2 separate regions of the Homo sapiens genome follow, and region 1 is linked to region 2. Evidence: promoter capture Hi-C in 16 types of primary human blood cells and fetal thymus (Javierre and others, 2016). All regions are on one chromosome and are shown on one strand. The core of a region is centred on a gene start or on the middle of the fragment in contact, and the rest is flanking DNA. Distances in the headings are between cores, read along the strand shown.

Region 1 (4,753 bases), core at 1,346-3,845, 1.4 Mb before region 2:
CTTTCGCGTTCATTTCAAGTGAAGGGTGTGTGGGTACAGTGAGTATTATGGGTCTCAGCGCCTCCATAGACATCTGATACTTTGATTTCACTTACATACCTTAGGGCTACTGGAGAAAGCTGATGTTCCTGGAATGTTTCTTATGCCTTACTCATTTATTTGGGCTTCAAAAGATGCTGGTGGTCCTGACTTGGATCCCCCAGAGGCCCTGGTTGGTAGCTTGCAGATGAGGTTCTGCTTTGGAGCTGTGGCAGAGGACAGGAATACTGTGGTTGGCAGGGCATCTAGAATCCAAACATCTATCTGCTATCTTGGTTAACCTGCTGGGGGAAGCTGTCCTTCAAAACGGAGGATTGGGCTGAGGAAATGTAGGCTCATTTCATCTTAAAAAGGCTACTGTCTCCCACTACTCTCGGGCACTTTCAGCAGTTTGGCCACATGTTCGGTAATGTGTCTCCTAAAATCTCAGAGATGGTCCATCCTCTAACTGCCCCTTGTCTCCTGTGTCCTCCCCACAGGAACCATGTTAAGAGTACTCCCGGCAGGGTGCGGTAATCCAGGCAATACAGCCTCATGCCTCTAATCCCAGCACTTTGGGAGGCTGAGGCGGGAGGATCACATGAGGCCAGGAGATCGAGACCAGCCTGGCCAATACGGTGAAATCCCGTATCTACTAGAAATACAAAAATTAGCCAGGCGTGGTGGTACGCATTTGTAATCCCAGTTACTTGGGAGGCTGAGGCACCAGAATCGTTTGAATCCAGGAGGCGGAGGTGCCAGTTAGCTGAGATCGCACGAGTACACTCCAGCCTGGGTGACAGAATGAGATGCTGTCACAAAAGAATAAAATAAAATAAAAGAACACCCCTGTGTTGCTGTGGTTTTCTCTTCACTGCTACACAAACTGTGTGGAGGTGGGTGAGCTTCTTGTTCTCTAGGGGTCTTGGTTTTTCTCATGACTGTGAGAACAGGGCTAGAGAGAATCTCTAGTTTTCTTGTAGGAAAAGTTATGGCCTGTCATGCTTCCTAGACCGAAGTAGACAGCTGGGATTGGACTCTAGCAGAGTTGGCATAAGGATTTTTAGACCATGTTTTCTCTTGCAGTCATTGGACCCAGGTTTTCAGGGATTGAAGTTAACTCCTGACTCAGGCCCTCAAGATAAAAGCAGGTGAATCTGAAATGGGACAACAAAGAAAAAGAGTGAAGGGTCCCTAAAATATGTCAAATATCAAGGGTCTGCCCCTGTGCTAGGCATTGTCACCAATATTGCCTCATTTGGTAGCACACAGTGCTTAGGAGCAAAAGCTCTGTGTTCTGATTGCCTGGGTTCAAATCCTGCCTGTAATACTAAGTATCCATATGGTTTTGGGAAAATTATGTGAGAATTTCATACCTCAGTCTCCCGATCGATCTGTAAAATGGGGTAAGAACACCCCGCCACGGAGTTATTGTCAGAAATTAAATATGTACATGCAAAAAACACAGAAAAGAAATGAACATGTAACAAGTGCTAAATACATGTTAGCTATTATTACTACTATTCAGTCTTAATCACACACACACCTTTTTACGAATATGGAAACAGGTTCAGAGAGGTCACGTAGCCTACCTGACTCACCTAGCCAGTTAGTGACAGAGTTGAGTTTCAAACCCAAGTTTATCTGGCATCAAGCTCATATTGATTTTCTTCCCGCTATACCTTTAGAGTCGATGAGATTCTGGAAGAATTATTTTCCTATTCCGTTTTGACTTTCATAGCATCACCATGAAAACATATTAGAGAAATCTGGGACTCACGGTTCATTCCCCAGACATAGACTCTCATTCAGGAAGGGGGCTGTCATGCTGAAATTTCAATGCCTCCAATGCGGAATTAGGCTGAGCCCCGACAGAAGTCCCAGCTGGGCAGAAACTGAGCCACTCACTTCAATCGGCCCTTTCCGCTGCCAGCGTGGGAGAGGAAGAGAGTGTGCTTCTGTTACAGTCAGATGTTCATCATGGAAATAGATAATTTACCTTCCTTGAGGCTTGGTTTCTGCATATAGGAACTAGATCCCGGTCCACTTGCAGGGTTGCGGTCATCGTGGCCTGATAGTTCCCCATTCGAACTTCCTGGCACGTAGTCGGGGAGACCTCAGCCAGTGTTCATTTCCTTTGCACCCCTTTCTGTCTCTTATGCTAGTTGATCTGATAAATTTTCCTAACAATCTGAAACTGTGTATCTACAATCCTCCAATCATTTCTGTGTTTTTACATATAAAAGTAAAAGCTTATTGAGGGTTGTAATTGCTTGGGGATTTCCCTTCTTGCAGTCTCTTTGGGTAACCAAAGCCTCTCTGGCTTCTCGCAATGTTTCTGATGTTAACATTTTAATAACACACTCAGAGTGTTTTTGTTTTATGAATTCTAATATAGATGGGAGTTCTCCCCCAGAGAGGTTTTTAAAGCAGGTGTTTTTAAGTGAATAACTCAATATCTACATGCATATTTCTGTGACTAAAAGCCATTTTTTCTTCCAGACGTCAAATTGCTCTAGTTTTCAGGCAGCTCTGGGGTGGTCACCTGCCTTGTTTAAAGATTCTTTTACCTTTCTCTGAGGAGCTTACTGCACTCTGAAAGCCTTGTAGTGTGTGTGTGTGTGTGTGTGTGTGTGTGTGTGTGTGTGTGTATGTGTGCTGTACAATCAGAAAAGTTTGTCCACAGCTTAAGGTGGACTTCCTCTCCCACATTAAGTGGAAAAAAAAATAGCTGTAACATCTATGAACATATCTCCAAAAAGAAGGCCTGACTAGGTAACAATTCATCTACCTCTTCTGTTGGACTTATTTGCTCCCTTCTTATAGAGAATTGCAGGATCTGCCTGATCCGGAGGAACCTTCTGATCTCATTCCACACACCCTGGACATGAGCTTTTGATCTCAAAGCTTACAGGACAGTGCACAATTGCTGTGCCTAGAGAGTCTACTGCAGAGGGGGAGGAAAGAGCGATGATCACTGGTGTGGAAGTGTGGTCCTAAGAGAGCTTCTGAAACTCTTGTATCTAGGGGACTCTCCTGGGAGAACTTAATAGGGATTTCTCCAAAGTTACGCTCACAAAAGCTTGGGCCATACCACTGCTCCAGCATTCTCAGGGTGTCAGGATACCTACTTATAGATTAGGGAGCTCGAAGTCTTGCGATTAGAAGTCCAAGACACAGAGAGGGGAACAACACATACTGGGGCCTGTCATGGGAGCAGGGGGAGGGAGGGCATAATAATAAATAGCTAATGCATGCGGGGCTTAATACCTAGGTGATGGGTTGATAAGTGCAGCAAACCTCCATGGCACAGGTTTACCTATGTAACAAACCTACATTTCCTGTACATGTATCCTGGAACTTAAAATAAAATAAAGTAAAATAAAAAGTCCAGTTATTGCCTTTTTATAACCAGCATTTCCTAAAGTTATTTCAACAAGGAGCTCGTTTCTTGTTGCACATGTGGTAGCGTGCCGGGGAAAGCTGTTCTGCAGGACATTAGTTGTGAAGTGCTGATAAGGAATAGACAGATCCCCTGAAAGGAGCATGGATACTCGATTTATCCATTTTGGAGCTGAAGGGAGGGGCCCTGCCATCTCTGGTCTTCGAGATCATAGAGCCTGAGAGAATAGAACATCAAGCTGGAAAGGACTCGAGGCTCAGTCAGCTCAACCTTCCCACCTTGACCTTGCTCAGGGAGGGCAAGAAGCTCTGCTCAAGCTCACGGATTAAGCCGTAGCAGCGTGACAGTGACTGGAACCTGGGTATTGCTACCCATGCGCGTGGGGCTGCAAGCTACCACCTTAACCGCAAAGGCCAAGAAACGTGGAGCGGAGAAAAGGAGGGAGATGAAACATGCAGAAGGAAAGATAGGGAAGAGACAAAGGAAGAATTTTGGATGCGGATTCTTAGACTAGATTACCGGGGGTGGCGGAGGGCTGGCAAAGCCTAGAAGTGCACAAAGGATGTTGAACAAGCTTCAGACGAGAGTTAAAAAAAAGTATCAGCGTAGAAGGAATTGTGTCTGCCTAGGAAAAGGGTGTGGCAAGAGGAGGAGCGGCACTTGCGGAGAGCTCGGAACACTCCGCCGAGAATGACTTTTGGAGCCATTTGGCAGAGATTAGGGAAAAGAATAAGTGGACACGCTCCAGTTATGAAGAAAAGACATATGGGGATTTAGATTATGAACAGACGGAAGAGGAAGAATGAGGAATCATTCTTTGGAGATAAAGACTCTCCGGAACAGAAGCGATGCTGAAATGCGTAAGTCGACAGTAATGACGGATCCCTTTCCTTTTATGGCACTTTACAGTTTATAAAGCACTTCCACCTGTGTGGTCTCACATTCTTCTGGCAGCACATCCAGGTTCTTACATAATGACAGCTGGGAGAAGAACTGGTGAGAAAGCTCCCTGTGAAAAGAAGGAGGCAGGATAGGAGGGAGGGAAAGAATGATCACTTGGATTCATCCATTTATGAAAATAAATGGAGGGGCAGTGTGCACAGCACAGCAGTTAGGCGTGAAGAGTCTACAGGCAACTCTCTGGGTTCAAATCCCTGCTCTATCACTTAATAGCCGTGTGACCTTGGGCACATTACTTAACCTCTCTGTACCTTGGTTTCCTTAGGTGCAAAGTGGGGGTAATCACAGTACCAATTTCTAGGGGTTTTATGATGACTTATCTTTCTTCTGCTTATAGGTGTCTGACAGAGCTAGGAAACCACTTGGGGAAAA
Region 2 (4,609 bases), core at 1,421-3,920:
CTCTGTGCAGAGGTACTAGGGATACAACATAGACAGAATCCTTGTTTATACTATGTCTGCTTTTAGTTGGAGGGACTGATAATGAAAGAGTAATAATATGTAGTTTTGGACAGTGATCAATGCTGTGATAGTGATAGGCACAGGGGACAACTTTCAAGAGGGTGGTGAGAAAAGGCTCTCTGAGAGGTGACAAGTGAGCTGAAAAGTCCATGAGGAGAGTGAGCCAGCCATTTCACGATCTGAAGGGAAACCAATCCAGGCAGAAGTTACTGCAAGTGCAAAGGCCCTGAGGCAGGAGATCCTGGCTTTGCAGAACTGCAAGGCCAGAATGACCACAGAGCATTGAGCCAGAGGGGGCATGGTAGAGTGAGGTCAGCTCATACGACCTCTTGAGCCACAGCAAAGATTCGAATTCTAAATGCAACATGAGGCCACTTAAGGATTTTAAGTAGGAGTGTAAATTATCTGAATTATGATTTTAAAGGAATGTTCTGGCCAGGCGCAGTGGCTCACACCTGTAATCCCAGCACTTTGGGAGGCAGAGGCGAGTGGATAACCTGAGGTCAGCAGTTCCAGACCAGCTTGGCCAACGTGGTGAAACCCTGTCTCTACTAAAAATCCAAAAATTAGCCAGGTATGGTGGTGGGCGCATGTAATCTCAGCTACTTGGGAGGCTAAGGCAAGAGAATCGCTTGAACCAGGGAGGCGGAGGTTGCAGTGAGCAGAGATGGCGCCATTGCACTCCAGCCTCGGCAACAGAGCAAGACTCTGTCTCAAAAAATAACAAATAAATAAAATAATGTTCTGCAGCGTCCAGCTATATGGAAAATGGGTTATCAAGGGGCAAGACAGGAAGCAGGGAAACTAATTAGGAATCTATTACCAGAGCACAGGAGAAAGGTAATGGTGGCTTGGACCAAGGTGTTAACAGTGGAGATGGATGGAGAAGTGGTCATATTGGGTATATATTAGATATAGATTGAACAGGACTTGCAGGTGACTTGCATGTTGGGGACTGATAAGACTTGAAGAACCAACTCCTGAGTGTTTATTAGGAGCAACTGGATGAATGGTGGTACCATTTACTGAGGAAGGGAAGACACAGGGAGAAACACGGGGAGGTTGGGGTGCGGGGGTGGGGGAAGGGAGGGTGGACAGAAATTTGGGCCTGGCCCACTGTGAAACTGTTACCTCTATTCAGTCCAGTAGGGAATCCAAAGAATTTCCATTGCAATTGTGACTCTGAGAATATTTCATTGCCCGATGCCAGGTTCAGAAAGCCACTGACCCCATCACCCCGCCTCTTTATACGCTCGGAGCTAATGATTGGACGCTGGGAGGTTTTGGGGAAAAACAAAAACCCAACATCTGAAAAGGTCTATGCTCGCTAGAAGTTAACAGTCAAAAGCTCTGCCACTTAAATCTTCTGCCTCTTAAATCTTCTCTGAGTCAGCCTAATTGGCAGAGCCTAATTTGCATACAGAACCCTAGCTGCAAGGAAGTTTGGGTAATGTAGTTTCCAGGTGCCCTACCTCTGCAAACCAGGAAGACCTACTAGGAGGACGGAAGTCGAAATGAATGCTGAGCACCGGTCCACTACATCCACCAAGGGTGTGTAATTCACTACCACCATCATTTGCATATGATGGTAGTCCCCTGTAAATACAAACTTCAAACAATCAGTGCTCTCAGAATCCAGCTATGATCTAACCTGGGGGCCTTAAAAGGAAGCCACAGTGGAATCCAATGGAAAACAGGAACCGGCATTATCTAACAGATAATTCCTAGTGAGGAAGACTGGAATTGGCCTCAGCATGCAGGGGCTGACCTTATCTGACCCAGAGAGATGGCTTTCCCACTCATACCTCCACAAGACCGAGCCTAGGGGTCCTAACCACCAGCCCCGCTGCCTCTTCCAGCATCTGACCCTCTCGGGAGGCAGTCTAGAGTATTGGCAACGAGGACAATGTCTTTGGGAAGCCAGAACTGTGCCTTCGTATGTTTTGATCATCACCACCATTCGGTGGTTATTTCCATGAATGTTTATCAAGGACGAAAGGACAGAAATGAAAAACACGAGATCAACCACTGGGGTTGCTGGTGAAATCCAGACCAGAGAGCGATGGCCCTGGTCCAGAAAGCTAGACAGACACAAGCACAGAATCGGCCCCCGTTGAGTAGAGGGCATTGGAAAGTAAGGAATCTCGCAGGCAGCCTAGGTGGGGTGTGGGGGGTCCCCGTAGCTGCAGGGTGGGGTGGGGGTGGGGGTGGGAGACGTCCAGGGGCGAGTCAAGGGGGAAGACGGTTGGGAAGAGAGGAAGCCACTGGGTGCAGGGGTCCCGGGGCGGCGACAGACCTCGGCCCCCATCCAGGAGCCCTCACCACGCAAACGAGCAGAAGGCAGCGCCAACTCCCACTCCAGCGCCCGCCTGCCGGAGCGAGCGCGGCCCCTTTAAAAACCATGTAAACAAAGCTTTGTTCCCCCAGCTGCCCCTCCTTCGCGCTCCCCCGGCCCGCTCCTTCCTCCCACCCGGCGTCTCCGGGCCGCTGACGTTGCCCGCGCCTTTACGCCGTCCCAGCGGTGCTGCGCATTCTCCAACCACGGCCCGGGCCGCCGGGGCCTGCGCAGCTGAGCGGCGCTACGCCACGAGCGCAGCGCGACGAGTCCCCAGCGCGCAGGCGCAGCGGCGACGGCGTCGGCGGCGGCGGCGGCAGCGGCTCCGGCCGAGGTGCGCGCTGGGGGGGAGGGGGGGCCGGAGAGGAGCATGAATGGAGCAAAATGGCGGATCATGTGCAGGTGAGAGGAGCCGCGGGGGGGAGGGGGCGACCACGAAGAGCGGCGAGTGGAGTCGGGGGTGCACACGGCCCACAGGGCGCCAGCCGGCTCGGGACTCGGCAGGCCCGCGCCGCCGCCACTCGGGGCTCTGGAGCCGCCGCCCGTCCCGGAGCCCCGGGGCCTTTCCCGCCTCCCGGGCCGGGGGCCTTCTCCGTCCCCTCCCACCCGGTCCCACACCTCGCGCGCGGGGCTGCAGGGACAGGAACGGGCATCCCGGCGCGCGCAGCCCACAACGTTCGTCAGTCACTGTCTTCGTCCCCGGGGGAGGCCTCCGTCAAGTCCTCGGGCCCCCCCGCCCGCCCCCCGGTGAAGCGAGGGGGACCCCCTTGCTGACTTTACTGAGGGGGACGCCCCCATGACGCCCGCCATCCCTCAGCAGATAACAAAAAGGAAACCTCGCGCTGATAAACCTCGCTCTCCGGAGTCTTTCCCGCCGCCTTCCTCTCACGCCCCGGAATACGAGAGACCCCCCAGCAACCCCGGCCTCCTTCCCCCTCCCACGGATGCGCCCTTCCCTCCGACACTCCAAATCGTACAGCCCGGAGGGCCGAGCTCCCCGGTCTTCCAAAATGGGTGCTCAGGCCTCGGCCCGCCTCCCCTCGCGTCCCCCTAGCCACAGTGAAGGAGTTGAGCGCCCACACCTCCTATGAAACACGGGGTGGAGGGGGGTGTGTCTGAAATGAGAGATGCAGGGTTGGGTGCAGACGTTGCTCGGGAGGGTCTTGATCCGGCTCAAGAGCTGCTCCTAGCGTGCTGTGGGGCCAGGCCACTCTCCTCAAAGACAGGCACAGGCCCTAGAAAGGGACAGCCCATACCAAACCCAGTAGCAGATGGAGGACTGCAGGGTTTAATTTCTTGCAAACTAGATAAAGTTTTTCCTGTCTGTGCCAGAGATCTGATATTTTTATGACAGTTATTGATGCACATCCATTGTGGGGAACCTTCCAATTTTCTAGGTAACCAAGTGCACAGGTTTTGTGTTGTGGCAAGGAAAGATTAGAGGGCAAGAAGTGTCGCCTTTATATTCTGTGGCATCATTCCTCAAGTAAGAAGAATGATCTCATTCTTAATACGTCTACAAGAATCTGGAGTGGTGTGACTTCTGCCCCTTTCTTTGGAGAGAAGGGACTAAATAAAAGACTTAATTTTCAGGCCAGAGATCAGTAAAGTAGATCTTCGGAGTGTGCGGGACAAGTTGTCAGGACAGAATTATAGCAAGAAACGTAATCACAGGTGGAAAACCACGGGATTTGTGTTTCAAAGCCAGTACCTTGGCTTAATTCAGAAGTGACAGTAAAAGTTGATACAAGGAGATGATAATAATGATAATAATAATAGTATAGCACCTTGCGTTTTATAGCAGTCATTTCTAAGAAGCATGAAATATTTTATGTGATTTTTAAAAATTCTTGGATCTTACAAGACTCAGGCAGGAATTACTTCTGTCATTTAAAGGAACAAAAACCAAAGCACAAGAATGATAATGAGATTTGGTTAAGGTAAGTCTAAGTGTCCCAAAGTCTTTGGAGTTTGGGTCCAGTGCGCTTCCTTACTGGGGGTTGGGGGGATGTCTATGAGCATTCTAGAACAGGCTTTGAATAGATAGCCTTTGTGAACCATGCTTCGGAATGCAGAGGGAGTCAGTACTTTTATGAATATACATCGTGCTATTTGCTGTTTCCCGTAAAGAAATATCTCTTAATGTGATCTCCCACATTTTCGAAGCATAAAGGTTGTCATTCCTGTGAAAGTCAGGATGCATCAAAGCAATCT

The links. Contacts are between HindIII fragments. The CHiCAGO score rates a contact against its expected background, and 5 or more counts as called.
Region 1: a fragment that was not itself captured here is called in contact with the fragment with the promoter of XPO7 in region 2 in 1 of 17 cell types (naive CD4 T cells); the score reaches 5.1 in naive CD4 T cells.

What each region holds. Positions count from the first base shown.
Region 1 is chr8:20,513,992-20,518,744 of GRCh38, forward strand. No RefSeq gene overlaps it. Among named protein-coding and RNA genes, the nearest start is that of SNORD3F, 99 kb to the right of the region's middle. The HindIII fragment of the contact is 655 bases long and covers 2,269-2,923 here.
Region 2 is chr8:21,916,992-21,921,600 of GRCh38, forward strand. XPO7 (exportin 7) reads left to right here and starts at 2,671. Exons shown (of 28, transcript NM_015024.5): 1 at 2,671-2,797. The coding sequence starts at 2,780. RefSeq lists a silencer at 2,588-3,027. The HindIII fragment of the contact is 3,017 bases long and covers 2,472-4,609 here.